Regions from separate parts of the Homo sapiens genome. Here region 2 is linked to region 1. The links are contacts of gene promoters, found by promoter capture Hi-C in human tissues and cell types (Jung and others, 2019). All regions are on one chromosome and are shown on one strand. The core of a region is centred on a gene start or on the middle of the fragment in contact, and the rest is flanking DNA. Distances in the headings are between cores, read along the strand shown. Region 1 holds the start of WNK2 (WNK lysine deficient protein kinase 2). Region 2 has its middle 110 kb from the start of FAM120A.

The links. The method cuts DNA at HindIII sites, captures the fragments that hold promoters and counts their contacts. A contact is called where the count stands out against the background at its distance.
Region 2: a contact is called between a fragment that was not itself captured here and the fragment with the promoter of WNK2 in region 1, in 2 of the 25 tissues and cell types used here (dorsolateral prefrontal cortex and spleen).

Annotation. Positions count from the first base shown.
Region 1 is chr9:93,181,655-93,187,310 of GRCh38, reverse strand. WNK2 (WNK lysine deficient protein kinase 2) reads right to left here and starts at 3,172. Exons shown (of 30, transcript NM_006648.4): 1 at 2,926-3,172; 2 at 1,701-2,383. The coding sequence starts at 2,381. RefSeq lists an enhancer at 169-1,134. The HindIII fragment of the contact is 13,924 bases long and covers 1-5,656 here.
Region 2 is chr9:93,336,756-93,342,411 of GRCh38, reverse strand. It overlaps the pseudogene FAM120A2P. Among named protein-coding and RNA genes, the nearest start is that of FAM120A, 110 kb to the left of the region's middle. The HindIII fragment of the contact is 9,643 bases long and covers 1-5,656 here.

The sequences.
Region 1 (5,656 bases), core at 1,923-4,422:
CAGAGGCCAGGCTCCACCCCATGCCTGCAGGGGACAGACCCAGAGACAGAATCGCCTGCGTTTCCTTAAAGGGAATGGGAACTAACAAGCTCCAAGAGTCACATGCGCCTGCGATGCCTCAGCCAGATCAGCAGGCTCTGGCTGCCGAGGTCTAACTCAAATCCAGCCTACTGCAGCACCCCTGTTCCATCCACCACCCTGCAGAGGCAGCACCTGAGGGTGCTCCGGTCAGAAGGGCAAGAGCAGGAAGACCGCTCGCCAGAATCAAGAGTCGTCTCCCCTTTCAGGCCCTCTCTTCTCTCTGCTTTCCCTTGCAGCAGGAATGCCCAGCACACCCCAGGACCCCCAGATCACAGCCCCCTGCCCCACCCACTGCCTTTCCTGTACCATCAGAACCTACAGGACCATGAGGGAGGGGAGCTGTTCAGTCCCTCCTAAGGACCTCACACAATGCCACTGACCCCTAACTTGAAAAGCCACATCTCCAAGGCAGAACCAAGGGGTGGTGGAGAGGCAGGTCTCTGGAGCTCTTTGTCTTGGGAGAAAGGCTGACGACAGGTCGACACCCACCGAATTATCCAGGCTTGCACACACACGCAGGCCACCCTGTCGGGGCCGGAGGATATAGCAATTGAATCCCACTTCTGAGTCAAAAATGCAAGAGTCCCGCAGTGTGGCCAGCGGCCCCAGAACACAGCTTGCCCCAGCTAGCCCCAGCCCCGTTTCAGGCCTGGACTGGACAGCCAGCTAACTTTACAGGCCAACAGAGTACACTTACACCTCCAGCCGGCACTCTCCCAGACTGGCTCACGCCTGACAGCTGCCCACCTCCAAGGAGGGAGGCCTGTAAACACCCCCTGGACAGGCATGGCCTCTGCTTCCTAGGCTGTCCCAGGACAGCTAAGGTGGCTGTTTATATAATCTTGCAGGGCTGGGGCTGACACCACGGTGATGGCAGGATTATGAAAAATGCATGCCCAGAGCCTCTGCAGCCAAGAAAAACCCCCACACGCATTCTGCATGACTCGGTTTTAAGACCTCTCACACGTCCATTTTGTGAACAAATGGAGCTCTCAGAGCAGCAGAGGCGACTAACCACACTTCCAGGCCTTGCCCAGCTGTCCCCAGAGCTCTACCAGGCACCACCTCTGGGTCACAGGCCCTGGGTCAGAAGAAGTCTCTGCAGGTATCCCTGCTGGGGCAGCCACGGCTTGCTGGACACAGGAAAGTACTAATTTATGGGCAGCCCAGAGCCCCCAAAACACTCTGACTGCACACACCGGGCCTTGAAGCCTCCACACTGTTTTGCAAAGACACAACAGTCCAGACTCCCTGGGTCATTAAAGTAGGTCATCGGGACTGGAGAAGCAGCAGCCTAAGAGACACAGCCTCCGAGGCCCACTCTCCAGGACCCTCTCTACGCCCACAGCGTGCACACTTACACCAAACGCACAACAGAGGCCTGCCCTCGCCACCAGCTGACTCACAAACCGCAACCTGCGCACGGACACAGCCAGGCCCCACATGCCGTCCGCACACCTGGTATGCATCCTGCCAGCCATCCACACAGAGGGTGACACACATGGAGCCCCGCCGCCCCCAGGGCTTCTTAAGGCCAGGCGCAGGAGCAAGGACAGGCCCAAGGACGCACTCGCGGACAGACCCTGCGGAAAGCCCCCTGCGGGCTGGGGCACCCTCACCTGCAGCTCACACCAGGCCACCTCCACCCAGGTCTCCGTGTCCAGCCCCTTGTAGACCGTCTTGAAGGAACCGCGGCCCAGCTCGATGTCGAACTTGAGGAAGCGGCCGTCCAGAGAGGTGGCCACGGCCTTGAGGTCGTCCTCGTCGTCCTCCTCCTCTTCGGGCTCGTCCCGGCGAGTGCGCCCGGGCTCAGGCTTCGCCTCGGCCGCCCCCTCATCCTCCTTCCTCACGGTCGCCGCCGCCTCCTCCCTGGGGCCGCCGTCGGGGGCAGGCGCGGTTTCGACAGCGGCTGCGATGGGGTCCGGGCCGGGCTCCTGCGTGCCCACGGGCTCGGGGCCGGCGTCCGCGGGGGCTCCGGGGGCTCCCGGCTGCGCTACCAGCGCTGCGGGCGCGGGGGCGGCGGGGCGTCCGCGGGCGCGCTCCGCGATGAGGCGGCGCGTCTTGCAGAGCAGAAGCACCCGGCGCTGCAGGGGCTGCGGGGGCTGCGGGCCCGGCGCCTCGGCTGCCTCCAAGCCCGGCGGCTCCTCCTGGTCCGACTCTACCACGCTGCGCCGCAGAAAGCGCTGGGGCCCCGGCCGCGCCGCCTTCGCCCGAGGCTCCGCCATGCCCGCGGGCCCCGCGCCGCGCCCGGGCTCCATCAGCGTGCCGGGGACGTCTCGGCGGCCGCCATCGCCGTCCATCTCTGTGGGCCAAGGACACACAGGCCCGCGTGAGCGCCGGCCCTGCCGCACCTGCCCAGGCCGCCGGATGAGACAACGCCGCCCTAAGCCCGCAACCTGCCCAGCCCCGGCCGCGGAGAGAGCCTGCGGGGGCCGTCTCTGGGGGCCCTGGGAAAGGGGGGCTGCAGACGGGACCAGAGGCTTGGGTTGGGGAGGAGGGGTCCGTGCCCTGCTCAGCCCCAGGCTGCGGAGAGGGACGGGCCTGTGGTGTCCCTGGAACCCTGGGAGAGAGGACCTGCTAGGGTGTCCCTGAGGGCCCCGGAGGCCGGCAGAGGGATCTCGCGCCCTGCCCAGCCCTGGCCCAGGAGGGTTCTGCTAGGCTGTCCCGGAGGCAGCTGTAAAGGGGATAGGGAAGCCCGGGGGTGGGAGGAAGGCAGTGGCCCGGCGGCGGCTCCACAAAGGACGCGGGCCCGGGGCGCGGGAGGGGCGCGCGGGGAGGGGGCTGCAGCGCCGCGGCGCGCACACAAAGGCGGCGAGCGGCGTTGAGGGGAGGCTCGGCACTCACAGGGCGAGCGGACGCCGTCCATGCCCGCGGCCCGGCGGCCAGGGCGTGCGAGGCGGGAGAGATCACGCTTCGAGGACGGGGTCCGAGTTCCGGGCGAGGTCCGCGCTGGGGTGGGGGCCGTGGCGCCGCTCCAGCTCCTGCGCGCTGCTCTCTCGGGCCGGGCCACTGCGGGGCCGCGCTCCCGCGTGCTCCTGCCGGCTTCGCGCGGCTCCGCTCCCGCACCGGCTCCGACCCGGCGCGCGGGGAGGGCGGGGCTCCGTTCGCCCCGCCCCGGACCGGCGCAGGGGGCTGGGCCTGGCACGCCCACCTGGCTGCGGACGGGCTGGCTGACTGGCAGGCGCGCGCGGCCACCTGCGGGCCGGCTACCTGGGCTCCCACCCGCGGTTCTTTGCTCGAGGTAGCGCTCCTGTCCTCTGAAGTTCTTTGGAACGCCCCGCAGGGCTGTCAGCTGCGGAGGACCCCGTTTCTTCCTGAGAGGAGGCAGCAGGCTCAACGCCTCAGCACGCCGCAGCCCGGCGCGCTAGACCTCAAGGCCCTGTGCCAGGACAGAATGGGCAGGCTAGGAAGAAAAGGACCAGGGGTACCGCCGCCCTCGGGAGCCCAGCCTGGGGCTAAGCCTGGTGGGGCTCAGCGTGTCCTTTCCTGCCCTCACTTCACCACCAGGAACCATGAGGACCTCATCATCACCCAGGGAGGCACTGGTGATCATTATGCCCATTTCACAGTCTAGAGCAAACTGAGGCGCCAAAGGCAGAAGTTATATGCTCTAAATCCCAGAACTTTCAAGACCGAAGCTGAGCTGGAATGCCTTGGATGGGATATGGAGAGGCTTCCAGAAGCCCCTTGACCCAAAGTGTTCTTCCTTCCCACCTCTGCCAGATGCCACCTCTCCCGAGAAGTCTTCCATGATCTCTAGCTCCTTCCTCCTCTAGACCCCCACGGACAAGCCCTCTCTTGGGCGTCTCTGGCCCTAATGCAGCAGGTGACCTGTGTCAGTAACCATACTGCTAAGTTCTGAGCCCTGCTCCAGGCAATGCCCTGAGCTAACACTTCACCCTTACCCCAGCCTCCATGATCCTAGGTGAGGAAACTGAGGCACAAGGGAGATACCAGAGTATTCTCATCTCAGTCCCCATCCCACTGGGCTGGCACCCCCATCAGATACACACACACTTCCAGAGATGAAAAGATGCTTGTGGGCCTGTAGGCCTTGGAGCCCCTGGCACAAAATAACTCATGTGGCATAAAAGCCAGCAGAGGCGATATCTCACCTTCACAATGTAGAGGGAAGAATATGCCAGGCCAACTGTTACCCAGAGAAGCAGGACTTCCTGGAGCCCCGCTGGGCACTGGCACTGGCTGAAACTAATTTGTGAGGGGCAACAGTGAACATCCCTTCCCAGCTCTGGGTTCAGCAATGCCACCCTGTAGCCTGAAGTCAGCAATGCTGGGAGTATTTACACTGCGGAAATTGGCAAACACCTCAAATCAGGACTTTTCTCCCCAGAGAGCCAGTGGTTAAATAGTGTGCTAGGTGTAGGGCTATGCATTTGGCACTTGCCTGTTATTTATATAATCTAATCTACCGTGTGAGACAGGCATTCATTCCGGGGCTCAAGTCCGCTGGCATGAGCCCAGAGCTCACACGAGGAGGAGGCCAAACAGCAGACGCCAGCTCTGCAGGACAGAGAGGCCTGAGGGACAGGGATCTAAGTTGCATCTCCTGGGGCAGGAGTCTTCCAGGTAGAGGTCAGGGGTGGAAAAGGATCTTTTCTGTCTTCCCTTTGGAGGCTAAAGACCCCCCAACCTTGCCCCTAACCAGCTGAGTGAACTTGGGCAAGTCCTGGTCCTTCCTGAGCCTCAGTATCTGGCCCTGCAGAGTGGGCTGATCATCCTGACTTGCCCACCTTAAAAGGCTGCCAATTCCTTGTAGATTCAGTCAATCTAGGAAGGGCACCAAGTCCACAGACCTGTTCATGATGGGTGTGTTCAAGCCTATCCAAGGGAAAACCAGGATGGGACAGAGCTAAGCGTGTTCTGAGACCAGCACACACCTATCTGGCCTCCTCCTGCTCCCAACAGGCCACACTGGCAGTGTGTGGGCAAAATACCTGCCAGCATCGGAGAAGGTTCATCAGCACCCATGGCTGCTGCCCACCCACACTTGTACACATGCGTGGGAAAGGATGGCTACACCCACAAATCAGCAGGGAGCAGCCCAGGCTGTGGGGAGTGGGGGACAGCCTGTCCCTGAGAGAGTACTGTGTGCTCTCTGAGCCCTTGGGGTGAATTCACGCATCTCTGCTTACACACCTCCCATGGTGGAGAGCTCATTCTCTCTGCCAACCCATGACCATTAGGGTACACAGCTAAGTCAGTAGTGGACAGGTCACAGTTTCCTCTGCAAGGAATCTCAGGCTGGGCTCAGGAGCAGCTCCTGGGATCCTGGCAGATGGAGCCTGAGGGATCCTTGGACAGACCTTGGAAGTCAGGACTTCACAGCACTGGCTATATGCCCTTTGGCAGGTCACTGGATATCTCTGAGCTTCCATCTCCCTGCTGCTAAGACGGGGAGTATAAATACTGTAGTCTGCTTTACTGGGTGTCCTGAGGCTGCATGATCCAGGGTCATGATGCCAGCATTTGTCTTTTGGAGGTTTGTTTTTTGTTTTCTGCTTTTGTTTTTGTTTTTTTGAGATGGAGTTTCACTTTGTTGCCCAGGCTGGAGTGC
Region 2 (5,656 bases), core at 837-3,336, 160 kb before region 1:
GCACATGCTTAAAATGGTTGGAAAATTTTGCCTTGTCTATGTTTGCAAGCAATGAAAATTAAAGGTGGTAGGGATTATACTGACTTATTTAATCTTGGGCTCAACATTTTCAAAGCTATATTTTTTGGGTAATATATGAAAATCATACAATGTCTGCCCGTACAGTTTTTTTTTTTTTGCCTGTGTATTTTTTTTTTGAAGACTTACTTTGTCCTCTTCTTTGTTTTGTTTAACATAACATTTCAGAATAATATGCCAAGTAATGGATGAGCGTTTGTTAGGTTGGGCTAGGAATGGGGACTGGGGTAAGGCAGACTGTAGTTCTAAGAAGAGGTTCCAGTTTAACACCATTCCTTTAAGAATTATATGTTATTTTAATTCAGAGCAAAGGCCACACAGCTGCATATAGGCATAAGTGAGTCTTTTGAGGAAGTAGGTAACTGAGCTATAAAAAGTCGAGATTGCAGCCAGGTACGGTGGCTTATGCCTGTAATCCCAGCACTTTGGGAGGCCAAGGCAGGCGGATCACCTGAGGTTGGGAGTTCGAGACCAGCCTGACCAACATGGAGAAACCCCATCTCTACTAAAAATACAAAAAGTTAGCTGGGCATGGTGGCGCATGCCTGTAACCCTAGCTAGTCAAGAGGCTGAGGCAGTAGAATCGCTTGAACCCAGGAAGCAGAGGTTGTGGTGAGCCAAGATCACGCCATTGCACTCCAGCCTGGGCAACAAGAGCAAAACTCTGTCTCAAAAAAAAAAAAAAAAAAAAAAGTTGAGACCGCACAGCTGAGGGACTGCAGTGCGTGTTTCTTTTCTCTTCATTCTGAAAGAACTTTTTACTATTTAAAAACTAATTTTAAAGTTATGAAATATTTCAAAATATAATAAACTTTTTTTGGCCTTTTTTCCTCTTTTTGCTTCTTGTATTCAGTCTGCATACTATTTTAACAAAAGCCCACCTCTCTAGTAAGTGTGAAAGGAAGAGAGTGAGAAACTGGTGGTGTGATCTCTACTCTGGAGCCCCGTGTCCCTTCTGAGAAAGATGCCTCTTGTTGTAGAGAGGACACACAGTGGTTCTGCTCAGCTGCACTTGGGCATGGAGAACAAGAACCGATATAGACGAAGGCCTGAATCCGCAGAGGCAGACCCTGGGTTAGGAGGCACTTCTGCAGCCTTCAGAAAATGCAGACAAATTAATTCACTTATTGGACTGCTTTAATAGAATAGTGACTTGCTCTGTGGATTCACAGAGGATTATTTGAGGTCAATGATTGGAATGTGATTTTAGAAAATATTCTTTCCCTGGAATTCTTTGGTTTTATGCTGTAATGTAGTTTGTTTGTTTGTTTGTTTGTTTGCTTTAGAGGAAAATTGGTGCTTTCAAGGAAGGTTTTAGGATGTAATGGCCAAAAATAGAAAAACAAAAATGATCGTCTGCACTTGAATGCTGCTGCTGCATGAGACTAGCCTTGCATTTTTACTATTACAAAGTTAGGGCTGGGCATGTGGCTCATGCCAGTAATCCCAGCACTTTGGGGGCCGAGGTGGGCAGATCGCTTGACGTCAGGAGTTCGACACCAGCCTGGCCAACATGGTGAAACCCCATCTCTACTAAAAATAAAAAAACAAATAGCTAAGTGGTGGTGCATGGCTGTAGTCCCAGCTACTCGGGAGGCTGAGACAGGAGACTCCCTTGAACCCGGGGGGTGGAGGTTGCAGTGAGCTGAGGTCATGCCATTGCACTCCAGCCTGGGCAACAGAGTGAGACTCCTTCTCAAAACAAAGTTAGGTATGTGAGGATACTCACAAGACATTATACACTAGACATTTTACATTGATTTAAATTATACTGTTAGAGCTTGAATCGACTTTGTAATATTCTCTGGACCAAATCTGGCTATGATTCAGAATCACCTGTGAATGAGTTTTTGAAATAATGGTGACTTCGATCGCATACTTAGAAGTGCAGATCTAGGTGACGTACTCTTTGATTAGGAACACCTCCTTGTGTGGTCTGTGCCATGCATGTGTGTGTGGCATGCATGCCTGTGTGTGTATGTGTGTGTGTGCCGTGCATGCAAGGGTGGGGGTGTGTTTGTGTGCACTCCTGTGTGTATCTGCTCCTGTGCATGAGTGAGTGCTTGCTTGTGCACACACATCCCTTAGAGGCATGGATCTGTGGACTTATTGTTCAGTCAGGGACATGTGTGCACGTGTGTCTGTGTGCATGTTGCGTGCAAGTGTGAGGTGTCTGTGACTACAAACATGCTGGTCTCATTATTCCTAGCTTCTCATACTGCAGTTTTCTTTGTTTAGTACAAAGCTGGAAGCTCTGCCAAGGTTTTTTCTTGGTGCGAGCCAGGATCAAAGGGCTATGGTGTTTTAGAGCTTGTAAGCTGAAAGCCCTTAGAAGGTGGGAACTTCACACAGGATCATAGTCTGTAAGATTCCTGGTCCTTCTCTGGGGGCAGTCAACAATGATCTGTACCTCACTCCTAGCCTCCGTGGGCCATGCTTGGCTCTCAGGAGGCTGGGCCCAGGACAAAGTTTGCACTCCTGGTCTCACCACCCCTAGTATCGGCTTAGGGAGCCTCTTGTGAGTGCAGCCATGGATGTTTGCTTTCAGGGAGCAGGAGCAAAGGTTTGGGGAATGTTTCTGTCCTCACCTATTTTGGCAGATAGGCAGTGTGAAAGGTGGTGGTTCGTGGGTTGTGTTCCCCGTCCCTAGTGTATTTGTCTGTTTTCATACTGCTATAAAGAACTGCCTGAGACTGGGTAATTTATAAAGGAAAGAGTTTTAATTGACTCACAGTTCAGCATGGCTGGCGAGGCCTCAGGAAACGTAACAATCATGGCAGAAGGCAAAGGGGAAGCAAGGCACCTTCTTCACAAGGCAGCAGTAAGAAGTTCCAAGTGAAAGGGGAACAGCCCCTTATAAAACCATCAGATTTTATGAGAACTCACTCCCTATCATGAGAACAGCATGGGGGAAACTGCCCCCATGATCGAATTACCTCCACCTCATCTCTGCCTTGACACGTGGGGATTATAGGCATTAATTTCAAGATGAGATTTGGGTGGGGAAACAAAGCTTAACCATATCATTCTGCCCCAGCCTCTCCCAAATCTCATGTCCCTTTCATATTTCAAAACCAATCATGCCTTCTCAACGGTCCCCCAAAGTATTAATTCATTCCAGCATTAACTCAAAAGTCCAAGTCCAAAGTCTCATCTGAGACAAGACAACCCCCCTCCTCCGCCTATGTGTCTGTAAAATCAAAAGCAAGTTAGTTACTTCCTAGATACAATGAGGGTACAGGCATTGGGTAAATATGCCCCTTCCAAATGGGAGAAATTGGCCAAAATGAAGGGGCTATAGGCCCCATGCAATTCTAAAATCCGGTGGGGCCATCAAATCTTGAAACTCCAAAATGATATCCTTTGACTCCATGTCTCACATTCAGGTCACACTGATACAAGAGGTGGGCTCCCATGGCCTTGGTCAGCTCCACCTCTGTGGCTTTGCAGGGTACAGCCTCCCTCCCGACTGCTTTCACAGGCTGATGTTGAGTATCTGTGGCTTTTCCAGGGGTGTGGTGCAAACAGTCAGTGGATCTACCATTTGGGGGTCTGTAGGACTGTGGCCCTCTTCTCATAGCTGCACTAGACAGTGCCCCAGTGGGGACTCTTTGGGGGGGCTCTGACCCCACATTTCCCTTCTGCACTGCCCTAGCAGAGGTTCTCCGTGAGGGCTCCACTCCTGCAGCAAACTTCTGCCTAGACATCCATGCATTTCCATACATCCTCTGAAGTCTAGGTGGAGTTCCCAAACCTCAGTTTTTGACTTCTGTGCACCTGCAGGCCCAATACCATGTAGAAGCCACCAAGGCTTGGGGCTTTCACACTGTAAAGCAATGGCCTGAGGCCTGAGCTGTACATTGTCCTTTTTTAACCACAGCTGAGATGCAACACACCAAGTCCCAAGACTGCAAAAAGCAGCAAGGCCCTGGGCCCGGCCCATAAAACCATTTTTTCCTCCTAGGCCTCAGGGCTTGTGATGGGAGGAGCTGCCTTGAAGACCTCTGACATGCCCTGGAGACATTTTCCCCATTGTCTTGGCTATTAACATTTGGCTCCTCATTACTTATGCAAACTTCTGCAGCCAGCTTGAATTTCTCCTCAGAAAATGGGTTTTTCTTTTCTATCCCATCATCAGGCTGCACATTTTCTAGACCTTTATGCTTGCTTTTCTTTTAAACATTAGTTCCAATTCCAAATCATCTCTGTGAATGCATAAAACTGAATGCTTTTAAGAGCACCCAAGTCACTTCTTGAACGCTTTGCTGCTTAGAAATTTCTTCCACCTGATACTCTAAATCATCTCTCTCAAGTTCAAAGTTCCACAGATCTCTAGGGCAGGGGCAAAATGCCACCAGTCTCTTTGCTGAAGCATAGCAAGAATCACCTTTGCTCCAGTTCCCAACAAGTTCTTCATCGCCATCTGAGATCACCTCATCCTGGACTTCATTGTCCATATCACTATCAGCATTTTGGTCAAAGTCTTTCAACAAGAATCTAGGAAGTTCCAAAGTTTCCTACATCTTCCTGTCTTCTTCTGAGACCTCCAAACAGTTCCAACGTGTGCCTGTTACCCAGTTCCAAAGTTGCTTCCCATTTTCAGGTATCTTTATAGCTGCACCCCACTCTTTTCAGTACCTATTTATTGTATTAGTCCATTTTCATACTAGTATAAAGAAGCTTTCCTGGGACTGTGTAATTTATAAAGGAAAGAGGTTTAGTTGACTCACAGTTCAGCATAGCTGGGGAGGCCTCAGTAAACTTATAATCCTGGCAAAAGCAAAGGAGAAGCAAGGCACTTTCTTAACAAGGTGGCACAAAGGAGAAGTGCCGAGCAAAGGGGAAAGAGCCCCTTATAAAACCATCAGATCTTGTGAGAACTCACTCACTATCACAAGAACAGCATGAGGAAACGACTCCCATGATCCAGTTACCTCCACCTGGTGTCTCCCTGACACATGGGGATTATGGGGACTATGAAGTTTATAATTAAAGATGAGATTTGGGTGGGGACATGAAGCCTAACCATATCACCTGGTGTTCAGATGAAGAGGTTGTAGAAGCATATCTACTGCTTAAAGAGGGAAATTGGAGTCAGGAAGCTCTAGGCTTGGTTTTCTTCAACATTTAAAACAAACCCAAGGAAGAGATGGTGCAGCCGTGCAAGCCCCTGGTGGATCTGTTGTGTCTCACTCAGGTTTTGTATTTTCTCTGTGTCTTCAGTAGTATGTGTCTTACCGACACCGCCTTAGGGCTCCTGGCATCCTCCAGTCCAGTTCTCAGCCTGACACATCATCGGCACTCAGCACCTAAGTGTTCTGAGAGGGAGTGCAGCTCCTAGGGGTCTGTGTCCCATGTCCTCCTGTTTCCTGCTGGTGGTGTCTGGAAGTGCTGTTGACGTTTGGGCCCCATTCGGTCCTTGTTACTGCGGGTCTTGTGCTGTCTCTGGAACAGCCCTTTATGGGCACCATCTACTCACTCATTCACTTCTTTTGGCTGACATGGCCCCTGAGCTCTCTTCCTGTCCTTAGATCCCTCAAGGCCAGATGCAGTGTTGAATGTGGAGGCTTCCAGCCCC